3 separate regions of the Homo sapiens genome follow, and all the other regions are linked to region 1. Evidence: promoter capture Hi-C in 16 types of primary human blood cells and fetal thymus (Javierre and others, 2016). All regions are on one chromosome and are shown on one strand. The core of a region is centred on a gene start or on the middle of the fragment in contact, and the rest is flanking DNA. Distances in the headings are between cores, read along the strand shown.

Evidence for each region. The method cuts DNA at HindIII sites, captures the fragments that hold promoters and counts their contacts. A CHiCAGO score of 5 or more calls a contact.
Region 2: a contact is called between the fragment with the promoter of RASAL1 here and the fragment with the promoter of OAS3 in region 1, in 12 of 17 cell types (total B cells, naive CD8 T cells, activated CD4 T cells and 9 more). The highest score is 14.2, in total B cells.
Region 3: a contact is called between a fragment that was not itself captured here and the fragment with the promoter of OAS3 in region 1, in 2 of 17 cell types (M0 macrophages and M1 macrophages). The highest score is 5.2, in M0 macrophages.

The regions. Positions count from the first base shown.
Region 1 is chr12:112,936,966-112,940,771 of GRCh38, forward strand. OAS3 (2'-5'-oligoadenylate synthetase 3) reads left to right here and starts at 1,509. Exons shown (of 16, transcript NM_006187.4): 1 at 1,509-1,742. The coding sequence starts at 1,566. RefSeq lists enhancers at 1,128-1,297, 1,192-1,501, 1,465-1,634, 2,058-2,227, 3,226-3,395 and a silencer at 1,722-1,811. The HindIII fragment of the contact is 11,275 bases long and covers 1-3,580 here.
Region 2 is chr12:113,134,166-113,137,924 of GRCh38, forward strand. RASAL1 (RAS protein activator like 1) reads right to left here and starts at 1,596. Exons shown (of 21, transcript NM_001301202.2): 1 at 1,233-1,596. The coding sequence starts at 1,297. RefSeq lists a silencer at 1,583-1,722. The HindIII fragment of the contact is 4,772 bases long and covers 1-3,616 here.
Region 3 is chr12:113,168,872-113,172,735 of GRCh38, forward strand. It overlaps DDX54 (DEAD-box helicase 54), which reads right to left. Exons shown (of 20, transcript NM_024072.4): 11 at 3,482-3,692; 12 at 899-1,033. Among named protein-coding and RNA genes, the nearest start is that of MIR7106, 12 kb to the left of the region's middle. The HindIII fragment of the contact is 648 bases long and covers 1,054-1,701 here.

The sequences.
Region 1 (3,806 bases), core at 259-2,758:
GCTTTTAATATATCTTTGCTGCTATTTTAATAGAATTTTGAGCATGTGTTCAATCCACTATCTTGAATGGAAAGTTTCTAAAGTGGCCTGTGACTCAGGAAGAAGACTGTGATTAATGGGCGAGAATGAAAATCATTGCTCAATCCCTTGACTTAAATCCCCACCACAACACCTGACCTACAAAACCTGCCCATACTTGAATATTCCAAGTGATGCAGCATTCACTACTCAAAATATTAGCTGGTGTACATATTACAGACCCAGCATCTCTCCCTCTAGTTGACCATGACCTCTGAAATTCACACTCTGATCCTATCTATTTCCTTTCAGTTACCGTGCAGATGTCAGGAAGCACTTGTTAAGACTATTACCTGAAGTGTACTCAGAGGCAGAGTAAATGCTGGGTCCCGGAGCAGACAGGAGAGAGGACCTGGGAGTTTTTTAGTAAGATGGGGAGGAGGAGATAGGCTATGGCTTGGACCAGGCCTGGAAGAGAGCTCAGGTGTGCAGTCTCTAGGAACCCGGGTGGAGAAGCAGCAGGAAATAAGCAGAAAAAGGAGACAGGCCATGAAGATAGAAGCGCAATGGTCCTGGATTCAAATCTCCACTCTGCAGCTTATAGCTTACAGTCCGCTTAGCTTTGTGCCCATTCCAAGAGGATTTCCCTATTGTAGCTTTACAATGTTTTAATATGTAGTATTGTTGTGCAAGGTACCATCCTAAACTGACTGACTTTCCTTCCTCCTTCTCCTCCAAAATAATTTTTAATTCTTGCAGACAGACTTTAGATCGTGTGTTTGAAGTTTTTAAAGATGGAATTTTTATTGGAACTGCATTACACGTATAAATTATTTAGGAAGAGTTGGCTTCTGAAGAGGGCAGCTCTGTGGGCTTGGGCTGGGTTTGAATCCAGCCAGACAACTTTCCAGCTGTGTTACCTTGGACAGTTACCTAGTTCCTCTGTACCTTGACTTCCTCATCTGTCAAATGGGTGATGATAATAGCACCTACACCATGGTCGTTGGGAGGAGTCAGTGAGAGTCTCCAAGTGTGCTTTATTATCGTTGGTGGTGGTAGTGGTGTTTAGAACGCATCCCTCAGTCAGACAGCGAGGTAGGACTTCTCCGTTTATTAAATCCTGACCTTTTTTTTCCATGTAAAACCTGCACGTTTCTGAAATGCTCAGAGTACGTTACTCAGTATGTACCCATATGTTCTGTGGGTATACTTTGTTAGGTTGTGATTAGTTCGTTGGAGCTGGTGGTTGCAGGGACGGCTGGAAGCAAGGAGATGAAGGAGAGGAAGTCGTAGCTGGGAAGGGGACCAGGAAGTGGGTGTCAGGTCCAAGAGCTGCTAGAAAGAAACGAAACTGAAAGCAGGGAATTTCCCAAGTTTGGGGAAGACAGGAACTGCAGCGCCCCTCCCCGTTTCACGCCACGCGCGGGACCGAGGACCTAGGACCTGGCCAGCTGGGCGTGGTTCGGAGAGCCGGGCGGGAAAACGAAACCAGAAATCCGAAGGCCGCGCCAGAGCCCTGCTTCCCCTTGCACCTGCGCCGGGCGGCCATGGACTTGTACAGCACCCCGGCCGCTGCGCTGGACAGGTTCGTGGCCAGAAGGCTGCAGCCGCGGAAGGAGTTCGTAGAGAAGGCGCGGCGCGCTCTGGGCGCCCTGGCCGCTGCCCTGAGGGAGCGCGGGGGCCGCCTCGGTGCTGCTGCCCCGCGGGTGCTGAAAACTGTCAAGGTGAGGTCCCACCTCGGGGTCTTTATGTGTCCAAAGGGGAGTCCTGGGAGGACGCTTAAGCCTCACATAGGCTTACGGTGGGGGTGGCTTTATCCGCTTGTGCACCTCATTCATTTCTTTAACAAATACTTCCAATGTGCCAGCCCCGTGCTAACTCCCCCGAACATACGAGCCAGGTAGGTACTCTTAAGCCCGCTTGACAGATAGAGAAAATGAGGCACAGAGAGGTACAGTGACGTGTCCGATCCTGTAAGAGGCCCAGCCAGGATTCAAATCCAAGTAGCCTGATTCCTGCATCTCTACTCTCAGAGGCTGCTTCTTATCCATTCATTCACTCATTCACTCATTCTCCCAGTCATTCAAACAGACTGTGGGCCTCACACTATGCCAGACCTTAAGGTTACAGAAGTAATAACACTCCGCGTAACAGCCAGAGTAGCCCAATTTATTGAGACATTATCAAATAACAATGAAAATTATCTCATTAAATGAGTATTACCTCATTTCATCCCCACGTTCAGTGAGGCAGGTATTATTGTACCTGTTTTATGGATAGGGAAACTGAGGCTAGACGCTAAATTACTACTCTGAGTCACATCTTTTTTTTTTTTTTTTTTTTTTTTTTTTTTTGAGACAGGGTCTCGCTCTGTCACCCAGGCTGGAGTGCAGTAGCATGATCTTGGCTCACAGCAACCTCCGCCTCCTGGGCTCAAGTTATTCTCACACCTCAGCCTCCCAAGTAGCTGGCACTACAGGTGCACACTACCATGCCTGGCTAATTATTTGCATTTTTTGTAGAGATAGAGTTTTGCCGTGTTGCCCAGGCTGGCCTGGAACTCCTGGGCTCAAGTGATCCACTTGCCTTGGCCTTTCAAAGTGCTGGGATTACAGGTGTGAGCCACCATGCCCAGGTAATTTTTGCATTTTTTGTAGAGACGGGATTTCACCATGTTGCCCAGGCTCCGGGTCACTTTTTGTCACTTAAATACAGCCACACTGCCACTGTGATCCCAGGACACTCGCAGATTCAGGGAGGAGACAAGTCATGAGCTACCTTATCCTCAGGGTAGATTTGGGGGTGCCAGGAGTGGATTGATGGAGGGAACCTGGGTGTGCTAGAGGAGGTTGTCAGGAGAGGGAGTGAAAACGCAGAGTAGAAATGGCCTCAGAGCACCTAGTGGTTTCCTGGGGCTGACTCTCAGCTTGGGAGGTGGGGAAGGAGGAGACACTTGTCGCCTAGGAGGTGTGAAGTCCCGTTTCTACCTTGGAGATGGACAGGAGGGATTTCTGTGCAGCAAGGGAAAGCCCTGGCATCCTTAGCTTCCCTGGAAAGGGGTGGGAGGGGGTTCTGGAGCACAATCTCCCTGTGCTTTCATTGTCTCCTTTGTAAAGTGAGCACGGTGCAATCTCCCTGTGCTTTCGTTTCCTCTTTTGTAAAGTGGTACCTTCCTTCTGGGGCTGTGAGGAAGGTTCAATGAGATGAGAGTGTGCAAAACGTGCAGGAAGTGCCCAGCCTGTAATATTCCCTGTTCCCACTTTGTCAGCAGCCCCCAGATGGTGGGAGCTGGTAGTAAAAGGACTGGCATAATCATCGGGATAAGTAGGGGGTCCCAGTTTGAGGCAAGCCTTGCTCCTGGAGGGCTCCATCCTGGTTCTTGCTGTTTACTGGCTGTGTAACTCATTTCACCATCTGAGCCTCACTCCCCATATCTGCAGCCACATGTAACTACATCACAGTTGTTTTGTGTTGGAAGTGAGATTAGAGACGTCAGATCCCAGACACAGAACAGTGGCTCTGACAATGTTTAGGAGTTTCTTTTCCAAATCCTCAGGTTGGAAGCTTTGCCGAAAGAAACACTAATCACACAGGTCTCAGAAATTGAGTCATACCACAGTTCTGTACCCATTCTGAGCAAAGATTGCAAATGTGTGTTCTGCAAAGCAGAATTTGTTTTACCTGCGGTCTTGAGTTTTTAAAAAGTTAGTTGCCAACATTTAAAAATCATGGATATAGGCCTGGCATGGTGGTTCATGCCTGTAATCCCAGCACTTTGGGAGGCCAAC
Region 2 (3,759 bases), core at 346-2,845, 200 kb after region 1:
ACTGAACTGTCAGAGCACACACTCTGCTTCTCATTCAGGGTGTGTATATTTGGAGTAGCCAATGAGGATGAAGGGTGGCAAAAATTGCTCTCAACAGCTGCCCCCTTGACGCAGCTGCAGTGTTTTGGGGGTTGGGAATGTCATAAAATCAGGCAGGAAAGTCCTCTCTGGGAGCCCACACCTTGGGGAATCAGCACAGAGCTAAGACTGAATCTTGACACAGGTGAAGGCTCCCAATCCATGCTCCTGCTCACCTGGGCCACAGGGGAACTCCTAACAGGTCCTCCACCCTCCCAGCTGGATGGGAGACCCCAGGCAACCAGATGGGGACTCCGGTCCAGAGCTCTCATTGCCCAAATGGGAAACCAAGGCCCAGAGAGAAGCAGGTTCAAGGTCACACAACAAATGTCCTCCAGAGGATCCCACACCTGTCGCAGGTGCTAAGGCCCTCAGAGCCCCTTCTGGGCACTATGCCAAGCAGGAGGGGGAACCCGCCCCCCATATTCTGCTGATTCAGCAGCTGCTGACTCAGCCCTGGGGGAAGCATAGCTTGGGACTAGTAGTGAAGGGAGCCGTAGGGTCCCCCAGTCCCATTGCACCTGGCTGGGGAGGGGGTCGCAGCAAGGAATTGGCTCTTCAAGCAGCTCAGCACCCGGGGAAGGCCCACACGAGGCTGGGAGCCACAAGACTGGGGAGCTCAGGGCTTGGGGTCAAAAGGACCCTGGAGGGCCACCTGGTGACACTCTGCAAACCTAAGCACCAGATCCACACAGGATGTTAGGGCTCATCTGATCCCAGGCCCTCTCCAAGGGTCCTCCCCAGGGTTCCCTTGCTAGGCCCCCACCCACGCCTGGAGGAGCCACCTCCAACATCTGCCTGGACTAAGGAAGAGACCCCCCGCTTTCTCCCCTCCCAGATCTGACAGAATATGGCCCTCTAATCCCCTCTTCAGCTCTGGACGACCCCCTTTAGTACATCCCGGGAACAAAGACACCCCCTCCCCTGCCCGGGGGTGAGGCGGGGCATCTGCTAACTCTAGGCGCCCCCCTCCCACCGGGACAGCCATGGGCATGCGGCCTCTCGCCCCTTTAAAGCGGAACTGCCCCAAGACCAGTCTTGGACAAGAACCCCTCGCCCTCCTGCCAACCCGCCCTGGCACGCGGAAAGGGCGACGTCGGCCCCACCCCAGGCCTTGCGCGCCCCTCACCCAGAAGCGCCCGAGGAGTACTCACACGTCCTTGGCAGGCAGCGCGCGGCCCTCCACCACGCGAACATTCAGGGAGCTGCTCTTGGCCATGGCGCCTAGCCACAAACTTTCCAGGCAGAAGGGCGCTCAGGTTCCGAGGCTGGACCAGGGGACGTCTACATGTCACCTGCTTCAAGCCTGGCTCCCTGCCTCGTGGTCCCAGTGCCGCCTGTCCGAGACCCGGGTAGCTGGATGGGAGATTTCCGAAAGAGGAGAAGGTGTAGGTGCCCGGGGAGGGAGCGCCCGTCCGGACTCTACAGGTAGGAGCCGTGCTCCGAGCAGGAGGAGCGCGCAGGGGGCGCAGCGGGCTCTTGCCGAGGCGTCTGGAGCTCCAGACAAGCAGGCTGGGCGGGCAGGGGGCGGGAGGGGCGGCCCAGGGACCTCCCCACAATCCCGCCTCCAATGGGGTCCCCCACCTGACCCCGGGCCCCCTCGCGCGCCCTCTACCGGCACCCCAGTCATGCGCGCCAGAGCGCACGGGCGGCGGAGACAAGGGTGCACCGCCAGGTGGGGAGGGGCCCCCGTCCTGATGGGCGTGGCCGCTGGCTCCTGGTGAGTTGGCATTGGGCTTAAAAGACATGGTCTGTGCCCCCGCCTGTCCCTCATCCAACATATTCACACCTCTCCGCCCCCACCCCTCCTTGCCTACCATGCAGACACCTGCCTCCTCTCTCCAACCTCCGCGCCCCCCGGTCCAGGAGCAAGTATTAGTGGTGGGTGGGAGGCGTCGCCAGAGAGAGGGTCGCATGTTCCCTGGGGGTCCGTTCAGAGTCAAGGGAGGGGCCTTGAACATCCCCTTCCATCTCGTTCTAGTTTCCAGTTAAACACAGAACCCAGACTCTGCTCTAACGTCACGGGCTGGCACTGCGGGGGAGGAAGCCGCGGCCAGATGGGGGAGGGGAAGGCTTGAAGATAACCACTACAGCGATGATAAAAAGTCATCTACAGTTGTTTGAACACTTCATGGGTGCCAGGCACTGTTCTAAGCGCTTTACTGGGATTAGCTCATTTTTGTCTCCAGATGTGCACTACACACTACTCCACTGTTACCCCATTATCCGCAGTTTATGGATAAAGAAACTGAGGTTCAGAGGGATTAAATAACTTGGCAGAGGTCTCACAGTCAGTAACTGATTTGCCTTCCAGGGGTTCGAATCCTGGCTCTGCCATTTGGTAGCTGTCTGGACTTGGGTAAGCCATTCAACCTCTCTGTGCTTTGGTTTGGTTTTCTCATCTGTTGAGTGAGGATGACATTGCATTTCAGTCACAGGATTTTGAAAGAATTAAAAGAGTTAATGAAGATAAAAGTCTCAGGACAGTGACAAGTACCTAATACACGTCCAGAAAGTGTTTGATATTCTGATTGTTGTCCTTTGAGGCGTGGGCCACGCGTCACCTCTCCTGGGAAGGCTTCCAGGATGCCCTTCCACTCCGGTAGAGATTTTCTTTCCTTTCTCTCTGCTCCAGTGGCTCCAGGTTTGTACATTTTTCTGATTTTAAATGAGATAATATGACAGGCAGGGCCTGTCCCAGAACAGATCCGTTCGCACACTTATTTCTCCCTGTGAATTCATTGTTGACCTGCCCAAGACCTCTTAGAAAGGCCAGGCACCAATGGGAGTGCCCCTGCAGACTGAGTGCGGGAGCCAACGCCCAGACCGGTGAGACCAGGAGTGCCCTTCCTGGATCCGTCAGCAGCCCAATGGTCTGCTTCCCAGTCTCCCTTCTTGACTCCCCACCCAGCAACCCAGACAGGCTGATGAGGAACTCAGAGCCCTGGAATTCCTTCCCCAGCTGGTGGCTGCCTGGTGAGTCTCTGACCCACCAGAGATGGGGTCTCAGTTAATCCCATCTGGGAAATGGACCTAGCAGAACAGGCTCCAAGGCTTAGAAGTATTGCAACATCCTCAGCGGGGCATGAGGGGTAATCCAGGGTTAGATCCAGAACAGTAATAGCCCCAAAGGAGTCATCCCACTGTGATTTTTTTTTTTTTTTTTGCCCAGCTGGAGGGCAGGGCTCGATCTTGGCTCACTGCAACTTCCACTCCTGGGTTCAAGTGATTCTCCTGCTTCAGCCTCCTGAGTAGCTGGGACTACAGGCACCCACTACTATGCCCGGTTAATTTTTGTATTTTTAGTAGATTTTTATAGTTTGTATTTTTATATCACCATGTTGGCCAGGCTGGTCTTGAACTCCTGATCTCAAGCAATCCACCCACCTCAGCCTCCCAAAGTGCTGGGATTATAGGCGTGAGCCACCATGCCTGGCCCACTGTGATCTTTATCAGTTACCCCAGATTCTCTCCAAAGAAAATATACCACCTAAGGTGGTGGGGGGAATGGTACTTAAGGTATTTGCTATGTAACTGAAGCTTTAAGACGGGAATCCTGCCCCCCGCCCCACACCGCCCCCCACCACACACATTTAGTGGAAGCTACTGTTTGAGCCTTTTTCTTCTGTGAGCCTGCAAAGACCGCAGACAGGCCTCCAGACCCCCAGGACCCCTTTTGGA
Region 3 (3,864 bases), core at 128-2,627, 230 kb after region 1:
GTGAGCCAAGATTGCACCACTGCACTCCAGCCTGGGCAACAAGAGCGAAACTCTGTCTCAATAAATAAATTAAAAATGTCCTGTGGGCTTGGTCTGAATGAGCCTCAGCCTCTCTTTCCCTCCGCTGCGCTCCCCTGAAAACTCATCAAGTATAGGGTCACACACTAGATGCCTGCAGGGGCTGGGCAGGCCACACTGACAGGAAGGGGAGGCAGGCAGGGGCTGCAGGGGACCAGGAAGCCTGTCTAATGGGGGTGCCACAGCTTAGCACCCAGATCCAACTGTTTCCCAGTAGATACCAGAAATCTGGATTGTTGTGGGAAATCCTGAGTTTAAAATAGAGGGATTAGCCAGGCATAGTGGCTTGCTTGAGCCCAGGAGTTGGAAGTTGCAGCGAGCCATGATCGCACCACTGCACTCCAGCCTGAGCAAGAGTAAGACCCCGTCTCGTTAAAAAATAGAAGGAATCAGCCGGGCGCAGTGACTCACACCTGTAATCCCAGCACTTTGGGAGGTGGGCGAATCACTTGAGGTCAGGAGTTCGAGATCAGCCTGGCCAACATGGTGAAACCTTGTCTCTACTAAAAATACAATAAAAAATTTGCCAGGCGTGGTGGCGGGCATCTATAGTCCCAGCTACTCGGGAGGCTGAGGCAAGAGAATGGCTTGAACCTGGGAGGCAGAGGTTGCTGTGAGCCAAGATCACACCACTGCACCCCAGCCTGGGCAACAGAGCGAGGCTCTGTCTCAAAAAATAAACAAAACAAATAAAATACAATAAAATAAATAAAAGGAATCATCTTCTGCTGGGGTCAAACCCAGCCCTACCTCCTCCCACAGCCAAAACAGGGCCCATGAACTCCACGGGGACCCCTATCCCCACCCAGCCTCCACTCACCTGAGGGCTCCTTGAGGGGTCGGGCGAGGGTGAGGGAGCGGCCCAGGAACAGGTGCAGATCCAGCAGGTAGGGGATTTCATCAGGGGCCACCAAGGAGTAGGCTGTGCCACTTCGGCCAGCCCGAGCCACACGGCCTGCAGCAAGGAGACGTTCAAGCTTAATTAAGCAAAGAAGGACCCGGACCCAGCATGAGTTCCACAGGCCAGACCCTGAGCAGGTGAGCCTGGCCAAGCCTCGAACCTCACACGGCTGCTGTCCCCACCTACGCACAGGGAAGTTTAATCCCGGTCCCTAGGTTGATCTGTGAGAGTGTGCCCAAGCTGACACAGTGCTCTGGGAGACTAGCAAAAATACAGCAAGGCCCTGCTCATGAGCATGATCAAAACTCTTCAGTGTCCCCACTTTTGAGAATTCCCCGCAAAGATGTAAAGATTCACACACAAGGAGGTTTAGTGTGGCCCTGACTAGGACAGCCCCAAGTTGGAAACTAAAGTCTCAAGGGTAGAGGACTAGATAAGTGAATTAGCTGATGGCCACACAGTGGGAATTAAACAGCTCAGGAAAAGAGTGGGCAAACTGCAGCCTACAGGGCCAGGCTGGTGGCTCACGCCTGTAATCACAGCACTTTGAGGGGCTGAGGTGGGAGAATCACTTGAGGCCAGGAGTTCGAGAACAGCCTGGGCAAAATAGCAAGACCCCATGTCTACAAAAAACGAAAATTAGCCAGATGTGATGGTGTGTGCCTGTAGCCCTAAGTACTTGGGAGGCTGAGCTGGGAGGATTGCTTGAATCTGGGAGTTCAAGCTTACAGTGAGCTATGATCATGCCACAGCACTAGAGCCCAAGCAACAGAGTGAGATCCCGGCCCCCTGCTTGTCTGTGTAAATAAAGATTTATTGGAACACAGCCACACTCATTTGTTTATATATTATCTATATAAATGAATAGGCAGCAGTCACACGACAGCAGCAGAGATGAACAGTTATGACAGAGACAGTATGGTCCACAAAGCCTAACGTTTCATGTCTAGCCCCTTACAGAAAAGATGTGCCAACCCATCACAGAATGACATTTCATAGTAAACGAAAAACATTCGTGATGTATGGTGATGTAAAAAGAAAAAAACAAAAAGCCAGTTATAAAAAAGAACACCCAATATGATTGCAATTTTGCATGAAGTACCTAAATCACTACATAGCATTATATTTTGGTTTGTCTCTGTATCTTGGGAAAACAAGGTGTTATGACATTTGGAGATTTCATTTGAGGTTGTCTGACCGGCACTGTTGGTCTTGTGAGGCACAAGAAATTCCCTTTGGGGGCGTCCTGGGGACCTCCCTAGGGACATGCAGAACCAGCTCTCCACACAGCAACAGAAACTAGGGGACAGCAGACAGCAACAAGGGGGAAGTGCACCCACCACATGACACTTATGAATTAAAAGAAGGCAAAGAAAGTAGAATAACAGTTACCAGGGGCTGCGGGAGGGGAATAAGGAGATTTTGTCTGACGGATAGAGCTTCAATTTTGCAAGATGGAAAAGTTCTGGGGCCAAGCATGGTGGCTCACGCCTGTAATCACAGCACTTTGGGAGGCTGAGGCAGATGCATCACTTGAGGTTAGGAGTTCAAGACCACCTTGGCCAACATGGTGAAACCCCTGTCTCTACTAAAAACACAAAAAATTAGCTGGGCCTGGTGGCGAGCACCTGTAATCCCAGCTACTCGGGAGGCTGATGCAAGAGAATAGCTAGAACCTGGGAGGTGAAGGTTGCAGTGAGCCGAGATCACACCCCTGCACTCCAGCCTGGGGTACAAAGCAAGACTCTCAAAAAAAAAAAAAAAAGTTTTGGGGACAGATGGTGGTGACAGTTGCACAATGGGAACAGACTCAATGCCACTCCACTGCACACTGGGAAATGGCAAAATGCTGAATTGCATGCTATGTCTACTTTACCACAACTTAAAATAGAAACATCAGAAGAATGGACACACACCAAAATGACGGCCATGTCATCAGAGAGCAATGGGGGACAGTGATCTCTGAAATGAGACCACAGCTGTTCCGTGACTTACGAAGGGCTGCGTCTCAATAAACCCAATAGCCGTCAAAAACACACGCACGGCACCTAACCCACTAAACATCGCAGCTCAGCCAGCCTGCCTTGAGCATGCTCCAAATACTTCCATTAGCCTACCCTTGGGCAAAATCATCCCACACATAGCCGATTTTAAAATAAAGTGTTGAGTATCTCATGTAACTTATTGAATACTGTACTGAAAGAAAAAAATAGAACAGCTGTATGGGTGCTATTGTAAAGTCAAAAAAACCATAAGCTGAATAATTGGGTTGTTTTTTTTTTTTGGTTTTTTTGAGACAAGATCTTGCTCCGTCACCCAGGCTGGATCGCAGTGGCACGATCGCGAGTTTGAGACCAGCTTAAGCAATATAGCGAGGCTCTGTCTCTAAAACAAGGCCCACAGCCACCCCATGTGCAGTGTCAAGAGTTAAGCCTTGTACCCTCGGCTTCTGCCAGGATCCGGCACCCCTGCCTGCCCCAGGGCCAGCCACGGGCTGCTTACCCACGCGGTGCAGGAAGAGTTTGCCCTTGGCGGGGAAGCTGTAGTTGATGACATTGTCCAGCAGCGGGATGTCCAGGCCTCGGGCGGCCAGGTCAGTCACAATGAGAGTGGAGCACTTGCCAAGCGTGAATTTGGCGAGATTGATCTTGCGGGCTGTCGGGTCTAGGGCACTGTAGATGTGGGCGCAGCTCACCCGCTGGGTCGTCAGCAGCTGCTCAGAGCAAAGATGGTAGCAAAGTGAGAAGGAGACTTGGAGGAGAAAGGAAAGGAAGCCAGACCATGGCGGGGGACGGGCACTGAGGTGCAGAGACAAGACCACGGGTTCTGGAGTCTGGCACCCTTGGTCTGAATCCCAGCTTGCTGGGTGATGCCAGTTTGGGGAG